Regions from separate parts of the Homo sapiens genome. Here region 1 is linked to region 2. The links are contacts of gene promoters, found by promoter capture Hi-C in blood cells and fetal thymus (Javierre and others, 2016). All regions are on one chromosome and are shown on one strand. Each heading gives the region's core, a stretch centred on a gene start or on the middle of the fragment in contact. The rest is flanking DNA. Distances are from core to core; before and after follow the strand shown.

Region 1 (4,772 bases), core at 2,168-4,667, 590 kb after region 2:
ATCAGCAGTTTTAACACTGACAGCACAGTCTGCTAGAATACCAATTTACCACAAAAATAAATACATCCCCTGGAGGCCTGCTTGGTGAAATTAATCAATGGCTTGGAGAATTTGAAACACATACAAATTCCAAGTAATAAGCTGGTGATCTTCAAGTCTGCAATGAACTGGGGATGTCTCACCTCCCCAGCTCTCCATCCAGGACCATCTGGGCTCCCTCCCCTCTTCTGTCCTGTACTCTGTGCAGGCACATCATTTTTCTAGCACCACTTGCCCCTCCTCCCACGCCCTCCCCAGGAGTGGGGAAAGGGGAGGTTTGGAACATCCTTTCTCTCTCATACCCATCAACCACAGCCTTGCTTTCCAGCTCTTCCAAACATTACCTCTTCAAGACCTCCTCTGCGGATCCCACCCAGAACCAGACTCACAGGAGATTCACGGCACAGACACCAGACCCTCACTGACATCCACCCACTCTTTTTTTCCGGGCAGGTTCTCCTTCCTCTGTGCCGAGGCCTGTTCCACTCAGGCTACTGAGCCAGGAGGCAGGCTTGGTGGGCTAGACACAGTCAGCATTTAATAACAAAGGTGTAATAATAATACAAACAAATATACTATTAAGATGAACCTAACGGTTGGAGTTTGCCAAGCCATCCTGTGACTGCAAATCCCTTTTCAATTAATCTTCATCAGTTACCAAATGAGGGTAGACTAGAATGATCTCTAGATATAGAGATATAGAGATCCTGGGCATCTCTATGCTTCCGTGAGTCTGTGAATGTTGCCTAAGGAGAATAAATGTGAGCTCCTTAGGCTATGAGAATAATAAGAGGGAGAGTATGGGCTCTTTGATATCAGAATAAGACAGAATACAGGCTGGGCACGGAGGCTCATGCCTGTAATCCCAGCAATTTGGAAGGCTGAGGTGGGAGGATCACCTGAGGTCAGGAGTTCAAGACCAACCTGGCCAACATGGTGAAACCCAGTCTCTACAAAAATACAAAAATTACCCGGGCATGATGGCAGGTGCCTGTAATCCCAGCTATTCAGGAGGTTGAGGCAGGAGAATCACTTGAACCCTGGAGGCAGAGGTTGCAGTGAGCCGAGGTTGTGCCATTGCACTCCAGCCTGGGCAACAGAGCAAGACTCCGTCTCAAAAAAAAATAATAATAATAATAATAAGACAGAAAAGAAAGAGAAGAGGAAGCGAAACGCTGAAAGGCTATCAGTTAGCTGGGCTGGGTGCAGTGGCTCACGCCTGTAATCCCAGCACTTTGGGAGGCTAAGGTGGGTGGATCACCCGAGTTCAGGAGTTCAAGACCAGCCTGGCCAACATGGTGAAAACCCGTCTCTACTAAAAATAGCCGGGAGTGGTGGCACACACCTGTAGTCCCACCTACTCGGGAGGCTGAGGTAGAAGAATCCTTGAACCTGGGGGACGGAGGTTGCAGCGAGTCAAGGTCGCACCACTGCACTCCAGACTGGGCAGAGCAAGACTCCGTCTCAAAAAAAAAAAAAAGGCCAGGCACGGTGGCTCATGCCTGTAATCCCAATACTTTGTAAGGCCGAGGAGGGTGGGTCACTGGAGGTTGCGGTGAGCCAAGATCGCGCCACTGCATTCCAGCCTGGGCAATAAGAGCGAAACTCCATCTCAAAAAAAAAAAAAAAAGCTATCAGGACTAGAGGAAGAGCGAAAAGTGAAAGGGCGGCCAGGAGCAGAGGCTCACGCCTATAAGCCCAGCACTGTGGGAGCCCAAGGCAGGTGGATCACTTGAGGTCAGGAGTTCAAGACCAGCCTGACCAATATGATGAAATCCCATCTCTACTAAAAACACAAAAATTAGCTGGGCATGGTGGCATGCGCCTGTAATCCCAGCTACTCAGGAGGCTGAGACAGGAAAATCGTTTGAACCTAGGAGGCAGAGGTTGCAATAAGCCGAGATCTCGCCACTGCACTCCAGCCTGGGCAACAGAGCCAGACAGTCTCATAAAAAAAAAAAAGGAAAAAAAGAAAAGAATGTACGGGGGAAGGCACAGGCTTGAACTCATACTGGGTGCCCTACCAGTGAAGTCGGCTTATCTCTAAAGCATCCTTTTAATCTCTCTAATGGAAGGATTATGTGTCCGAAACTTACCCCAAACCCACTTTCCAGTGTTTAGGGAACATCTGGCCTGATGTAGGCTTTCAATTCAGATGAGAGATTCACAGCCAACTTTCTGGGGGCCCTGGGGTTACGGGGCTAGGAAGGCAGGCATGACTGTAAGGTCTGAGGAGAAAACTAAGGGACGGAGTTGAGGAAAAAGAAATAGGTCCTTTATAGTCCTGGCTCGCTGGTAGCTCCCTCTCTCTCTCTCTCTGTAGTTCCTCAACGCCTATGTCTTTGGGACTCACCTTTTCTCCAAAGTCCTAAAATCTTCTTTCAAGTTCCCCATAGGCTCTATTGTTCCCCCAAAGGGCTCCTCAGATCCAGATCCTCCTCCTCACACACACCCACAGTCTCCCATTTAATCATCTGTATTCTCAAAACATTTATTGAGTGCCTACCAGACACTGTGTGAATACGTATCTAAGACAAAAATTCCTGCCTTCGAGGAGTTGTTAGTGGGTGCAACAGACAACTACACAGATTGGGTTGCAGTGAGGGCAAAAGGGGAAAGTCTTAGGTTTTTTTCCCCCAAGATGAGTCATCTGGAGCTTTTCAGTTCCTCAAACTCGTTCTTAGCTTCTCAGCCGGCAGGCCTCTGCCTCTGTAGTTTCCTGAGTGGGCCCCTCTCTTTCCACTTCTCTTCATCCGGCTAACTCCTAATGCCTCTTCGTGCTTCCTGTATGAAGCCCTCTTTGACTCCCCTCTGCACACAGCCTTCGCCCACCCCCTCCCCCACTCCAGGCTAGACCAGATGCTCCTCGTCCGGCCCCCAAAAGGAAGCTCTGTACCTCCCCTATCATGGCATCTACTACTCTGAATTATCATTGCTTGTTTCTACCAATGTGTGAACTCCAGGGGTACCGGGACCAGATCTCTCGTCCGCCGCAGCGTCCCGGCGCAAGCCTGTTCAAGGAAGGAAGACACCCTGCAGAGCTCGGAACCTTGCAACCCCCGACGCTGCTCCGCAAGCACCACCGCTGGAGCCAGCCCCTCCGGCAGGATACGCCCCACGGGCCCCGCCTCCTCACCTTCGCATTTGCTGGGCAGGCGAACCCAGTCGTTCTCCTCAGCTCCGGCCTGGCTCGGGCCCAGCTCCGGGGCCGGCAGCAGCAGCAGCAGCAGCAGCAGCAAGGGAAGAAGCAGAAGACAGCGGGACGCGGGCTCAGGCATTGAATCCATGGCCCGGCCGGGCCCGGACCCTAAAGGACCGGGCGGTTCCTCCTCCCGCGGCGCGCGCGGAGCAGTTTCCCCTCGCCGCTTCCGGGACTGCACACGTGCCTCCGAGCAACCACGACAACAGCTAGCCTCCCGCCCGCCCTCCTCTCGCAGCCGCAGCCCGCCTTCAAAGCGGACCAAGGCCCGCGGACGGCGCAGCCAATAGGCTTTCTGGGGTTTGCTCTCTAGCTAATGGGAAGACTATCTTTTTACGCCCTTGGCCAGTAAGAGAGCAGATGGTGGCCTCAGCGACCTATGGCAAAGTCCTTTCCCACCCCCTAACGGAGGCTCTGGGAGAGAGAGGATGCAGGACCAAGACCCGAGAAGAAGCCTGCGTCTGGGCCTGGGTGGGACGGATTCAGGCGCGCAGGTGCTGGAAGATGTGGGGAAGGCCGTCTTCGCGGCTTTCTCCGCCTCCTCGAACGTCACTTCCCTCCTGGGGTCCTAATGCCGCAAGTCCTTACTGAACATCTGTTTTTAAATTTTATTATTGGTATTGTGGTTGTTATAGCCGGGCACTCTTGTAGGCGCTTAAGGTGCAAGCAGGACGACTCAAACTGTCCCCAGCCTTCACACTTTTTTAGTAGCCAGTAGATTTGTCCTAGTGAGAACTAGAACAAATGACTTCCTCTCTGAGCCTGTTTCTATTTGTATGACGACAAAGTGATCCTCCTAGCTGCTGTGGGAGCTTGCCTGTTGTTGGGAAGCTCAAATAGGTTAATAGAATTAAAGCTTATCGAGCAGATTGTAAAAAGTTCAGGCATTAATTTTCTTTTTGTATGTAATCCCAGCCCCTTTTACTGCCCTATTATTTATTTCTTGATTCTGAGCTCTCAGAAGGCAGAAATTTAGCCGATTAACGATTGTCTCTCCCTTCCGCTTCCCCAGCAACAACAGGGTGCCTGGCACAAGGAGATACTCAGTAAAACTCTCATCTGCTGTGTCATTAAGGGGAACACTTAATGGCTCACGCCTGTAATCCCAGCACTTTGGGAGGCCGAGGCGGAAGGATCACCTGAGCCCAGGAGTTGGAGACCAGCCTGGGCAACAGATTGAGACCCTGTCTCAACAAAGAAGAAGAAGAAGAAAAAGGCCAGGCGCCGTGGCTAATGTCTGTAATCCCAGCACTTTGGGAGGCCAAGAAGGGAGAACTGCTTGAGGCCAGGAGTTCGAGACCAGCCTGGTCAACATAGCGAGACACCCCCCCCATCTCAAAAATAAATAAATCAAAATAAAAAATAAAGAGGAGGCCGGGCTTGGTGGCTCACGCCTATAATTCCAGCACTTTGGAAGGCCGAGGTAGGTGGATCACGAGGTCAGGAGTTCAAGACCAGCCTGGCCAAGATGCTGAAACCCCATCTCTACTAAAGATACAAAAAGTTAGCCGGGCGTGGTGGCACACGCCTGTAA
Region 2 (4,550 bases), core at 909-3,408:
CTACTGAAGAACAGAAACTACCATAGTGCTTAGTTTTGTTGACACTACTCAGTCCTCTTACTAGACTTCTGTTATGCTTGGCATTGATTAAAAAACCCCCTCCTGGCCCGGCACAGTCACTCACACCTGTAATCCCAGCACTCTGGGAGGCTGAGACGGGCAGATCACAAGGTCAGGAGTTTGAGACCAGCCTGGCCAGCATGGTGAAACCCCGTCTCTACCAAAAATACAAAAAATTAGCTGGGCATAGTGGCGCATGACTGTAGTCCCAGCTACTCGGGAGGCTGAGGCAGAACTGCTTGAACCCGGGAGGCGGAGGTTGCAGTGAGCCAAGATCGCGCCACTGCACTCCAGCCTGGGACATAAGAGTGCCTCATGAAAAGCAAAGAAAAAAATCTCCTCCTTTTTTGAACTATTCCCCTGGTTTCTGAGCTCTGAGCTCCACTCTTCTTCCTTCTCTGATGATCGACTTCCACCCATCTCTAAATTTGCCAGGTTCTTGTCTCTCTCCCAGGTCACCTTAACTGTACTAACAGTTTTAGCAACTATCTGTTCTGACAACTCCCAAAATGTTATCTCACTTCTGATCTCATTTCAAGCATGCAGTCTTCTAGCCTGCTAGATTTCTCCACATGCAGAAAACAATGCATCATCATTCCCGTTCCCCAGACCCATTTCTCCTCTCAGTAAATGATACCACAATGCATCAAAGCAGTTCCCAAGCCAAAAAGTCATTTTATGCTACCCCCACAGCCTTTACCAAAGCAATCATAAATTTACCTTCTATTCTACCTTTGCTCTATTTCTACCATCAGTCTTAGTTCATGTCTTCAACCTCAGCTTCCCTTACAACAGATCTGCCTGCTCCATATGATCCTCCTCAAACTCATTCCCTCCCAGCCACCAAGGTTGCAAATCTCATCATGTCTGCTTAAGAACTATTCAATCTCCCTATCATCAACAGTGCCCAAGACACACTTCAACCTTGCCTACCACTCATGCCAGAACTACTTGGACATGCCCGGAGCACACTTCACACAAGCCATAATTTTTTTTCAAGCATTAACCTTTTTCATTGTTCATACTTTATTCCTTGTATCAACAGGTTAAAAAAGTAAAATTTTCCCAAGCACTGATTTACAGATCATGTTTATAAGCTGCACGCAAAGGTCAGTTGCCTAAACGGTAACATTCAGTAATCTATTTAAATGCAATTTTAACCCTTATTTTAAGCTAAGTGAAACAATACAAAAGACTAAATACACACAAAACCTGTATATCCTGAACTTCACTGACTTGAAACAAACCCTTCATAATTTAACTCCTGTTCTTTTTTACTTACCATTCAAGGCTCAATTGAGATGTACCCTCCTCTTGAAATGTTAAGTACCTCTCCGCCCCTCTTCCTGGTCTCAGCGTAATGCTCCCCACCCCAACCCTGCCGTCTTCATCGCTATCAACCACCTTCACCATATTACACTAGATTCACTGTTTATACACACCATTCCTCAACAAGACTGAACATCTTTGCAGAACTGGGTAGAAACCGTGTCTAATTTGGCCTGTAAACGGAGCGTCTAGCACATTGCTCAACAAACTTACAAACGGAGCGACCCCCAAGAGCAGCTTCTGAGACAGACACAGGCTGCTCAGACCACAAGGTCTGGCCTTCATAACCCTCCCCAGACAACTCCGGCCCCACTTACCTTCTCGAAGCGGTCCTGGTCCCAGGCATCATCATAACCGGAATAGTTACCGGGAAAGTCAGTAGTATGGACCTAGAGCAAAGGGACGAATTTGTCCACGAAGGGACAGTGAGCCCACAGCTATCCCCACGCCAATCCCAAGACCCATCCCTGTTCCGCTCTCATTCCTCCCGCCCGAGCTCAAGGCCACAAGGCTTACATTGCGAACCCCAAACTCCCCCAGAACCACGCGGCTCCGCATTTCCTCCACCGCCTGAGAAGCCGCCATCTTCAATCTCTCCACGAGACTAGAGGTTCTATCTCGCGCGTGCGTCCTAGTAGCCCTGCTCCGTCTCCGTGGCAACGCACCGCCTCCTGGAATCTTAAATATCGCGAGATTTTTCCCCGCCCCCGTCCACGTCCCCAGCTTCCGGAAGTTGCTTTTGTCCAAACATCCGGGCTTCTCCTTTTTGTGTTCCGGCCGATCCCACCTCTCCTCGACCCTGGACGTCTACCTTCCGGAGGCCCACATCTTGCCCACTCCGCGCGCGGGGCTAGCGCGGGTTTCAGCGACGGGAGCCCTCAAGGGACATGGCAACTACAGCGGCGCCGGCGGGCGGCGCCCGAAATGGAGCTGGCCCGGAATGGGGAGGGTTCGAAGAAAACATCCAGGTAATGGCCCCAAGGCACCAGCTGCCAGCAGCCGGAGGGCCGGCGATGTCCAGAAGTGTCTTGGGGATTCCCCCTCTGGGCCTGGAAGTCCGCTCCATTTACAAAACTCTCTTCTTTGGGTCTTCGTGCACACTAAAGTCAGTGGGATTAACATTGACCTGAAAGGGCCAGACTACTACTCCAGCCTGAGGATCTCGGGTTTCAGGGCCCGCCCGAGGCATTAGGAAGAAGGTATTCTTGGAACAAGTTAGGAGGTTGGTCGGGGTAAGGCATGGAGTGGGGTTGGGTGGGATTCACTGGCATTCGCTGAAAACATACTATGTGTATAGTTTTGTTTGGGGCTTAGGAAAGAAGGAAATGGGCACTTTTTCAGCCTTTTAGTCTTTGATAGGTAACATAGGAGAAAGACATGAATGGAAGACTAGTAGGTTTCCCAGGCTAGAAAAGATAGCCAAAGCTAGAAACCAGGCGTTCTGAGAGCATATGAGGGGGAATGGAGTGGCATGATCTGTAGTGATTCCAAGCCGTATCCTCAGCAGTGGAAGAACAAAGCCCTAAACCCTGGGATGAGCAGAGGACTTAATGGATGGAACAGAAAAGTCCTGCACTCTAGGAGCCATTGTCTTCACAGGGCGGAGGCTCAGCTGTGATTGACATGGAGAACATGGATGATACCTCAGGCTCTAGCTTCGAGGATATGGGTGAGCTGCATCAGCGCCTGCGCGAGGAAGAAGTAGACGCTGATGCAGCTGATGCAGCTGCTGCTGAAGAGGAGGATGGAGAGTTCCTGGGCATGAAGGGCTTTAAGGGACAGCTGAGCCGGCAGGTGGCAGATCAGGTAAGCAAGATTGAATCCTCTGCAGGTAGAAAAGTAGACCTAGGTATGTCCCGTGTTCTGGAATTGGTGTTGGTGATGTTCGCCCCAGGTTGTCCAGTTAGAACCATGTAGAAATCAAACGGAAAATAGGCAACAGGATCTAGAACCAACAGTACCACAATACCTATGCCCATCTTCCTTACTTCAGATGTGGCAGGCTGGGAAAAGACAAGCCTCCAGGGCCTTCAGCTTGTACGCCAACATCGACATCCTCAGACCCTACTTTGATGTGGAGCCTGCTCAGGTGCGAAGCAGGTGAGGAGCCTTCTCTTGAAGAAGCTTCCCTCCTAACACCTAGACCTTCATGCACACTACAGTCAGATTTCAAGCCCTGGGCTCTGATGGGCTCCCCGTCTTCATGACCCCATCACCTCTCATCACTGCACCTGTCACTGAAACAAGTAATAATAGCACACCATCTTCCTCTTCTTTTCCATCTAACTGACTACTCATCTTCCCTCAAAACCTACCTCAGATGTCACTTCCTCTGTTCCACATTCCTCAATCCCATCCCCAGTTTGTTCTCTCCTGGTGTTCCTATAGAACTCTGTGCTTGCCAGCCGGGCATGGTGGCTCACGCCTGGAATCCCAGCACTTTGGGAGGCCGAGGCGGGCGGATCACAAGGTCAGGAGATCGAGACCATCCTGGCTAACACGGTGAAACCCTGTCTCTACTAAAAATGCAAAAAAAATTAGACAGGCGGGTGCCCGTAGTCCCAGCTACTCGGGAGGCTGAGGCAGGAGAATGGCATGAACCTGGGAGGCGGAGGCGGAGCTTGCAGTGAGCCGAGATCGTGCCACTGCACTTCAGCCTGAGCAACAAAGTGAGACTCCATCTCAAAAAAAAAAAAAAAAGAACTCTGCGCTTGCCTCTAATAGACAGCACTTCACCACTGCTATCCTTTCTTATTCCTGGAATCTTCCTTCCAGAGACCAACAGCATCTCAAAAGCAGGCTCTGTCTTGTTTATCTTTTTATTCCCAGCACCAGAACAGTCTCAGAATCAAAATATCAGGGCATAGTTTTTGAGTGACTTTTCAAGAACTAGATTTAATCCTGGCTTGGTTTTTTTGTTCATCCTTTAATCAATGCTAATCAAATACCCAGGACCACTCAGCAGGTATTTATTAAGCATTTGCTCTGTGCCAGACGCTAAACTAATCGTATCTGGTTCAGTGGTGAAGATAGATGGGAGCCTTGCTCTTGAGTGCAGTTACAGTACAGTACTCATTCTATGATGGGGCACACAGGAGGGATATGTGAGCCAAAGCAGGTTGGTGGGTGGGACAGGACAAGTTTCCCAGAGGAAGTAAAAC

What was found. Contacts are between HindIII fragments. The CHiCAGO score rates a contact against its expected background, and 5 or more counts as called.
Region 1: a contact is called between the fragment with the promoter of CNPY3 here and the fragment with the promoter of YIPF3 in region 2, in 1 of 17 cell types (erythroblasts). The highest score is 5.1, in erythroblasts.

What each region holds. Positions count from the first base shown.
Region 1 is chr6:42,928,125-42,932,896 of GRCh38, reverse strand. CNPY3 (canopy FGF signaling regulator 3) reads right to left here and starts at 3,417. Exons shown (of 6, transcript NM_006586.5): 1 at 3,176-3,417. The coding sequence starts at 3,326. CNPY3-GNMT (CNPY3-GNMT readthrough) reads right to left here and starts at 3,417. Exons shown (of 5, transcript NR_134892.2): 1 at 3,176-3,417. RefSeq lists enhancers at 2,699-2,808, 3,119-3,378, 3,021-3,522, 3,829-3,878, 3,889-3,938 and 1 more. The HindIII fragment of the contact is 20,502 bases long and covers 1-4,096 here.
Region 2 is chr6:43,514,534-43,519,083 of GRCh38, reverse strand. YIPF3 (Yip1 domain family member 3) reads left to right here and starts at 2,158. Exons shown (of 9, transcript NM_015388.4): 1 at 2,158-2,357; 2 at 2,989-3,195; 3 at 3,383-3,489. The coding sequence starts at 2,277. It overlaps POLR1C (RNA polymerase I and III subunit C), which reads right to left and starts at 1,995. Exons shown (of 9, transcript NM_203290.4): 1 at 1,906-1,995; 2 at 1,707-1,778. The coding sequence starts at 1,974. RefSeq lists an enhancer at 1,869-2,418. The HindIII fragment of the contact is 5,758 bases long and covers 1-3,515 here.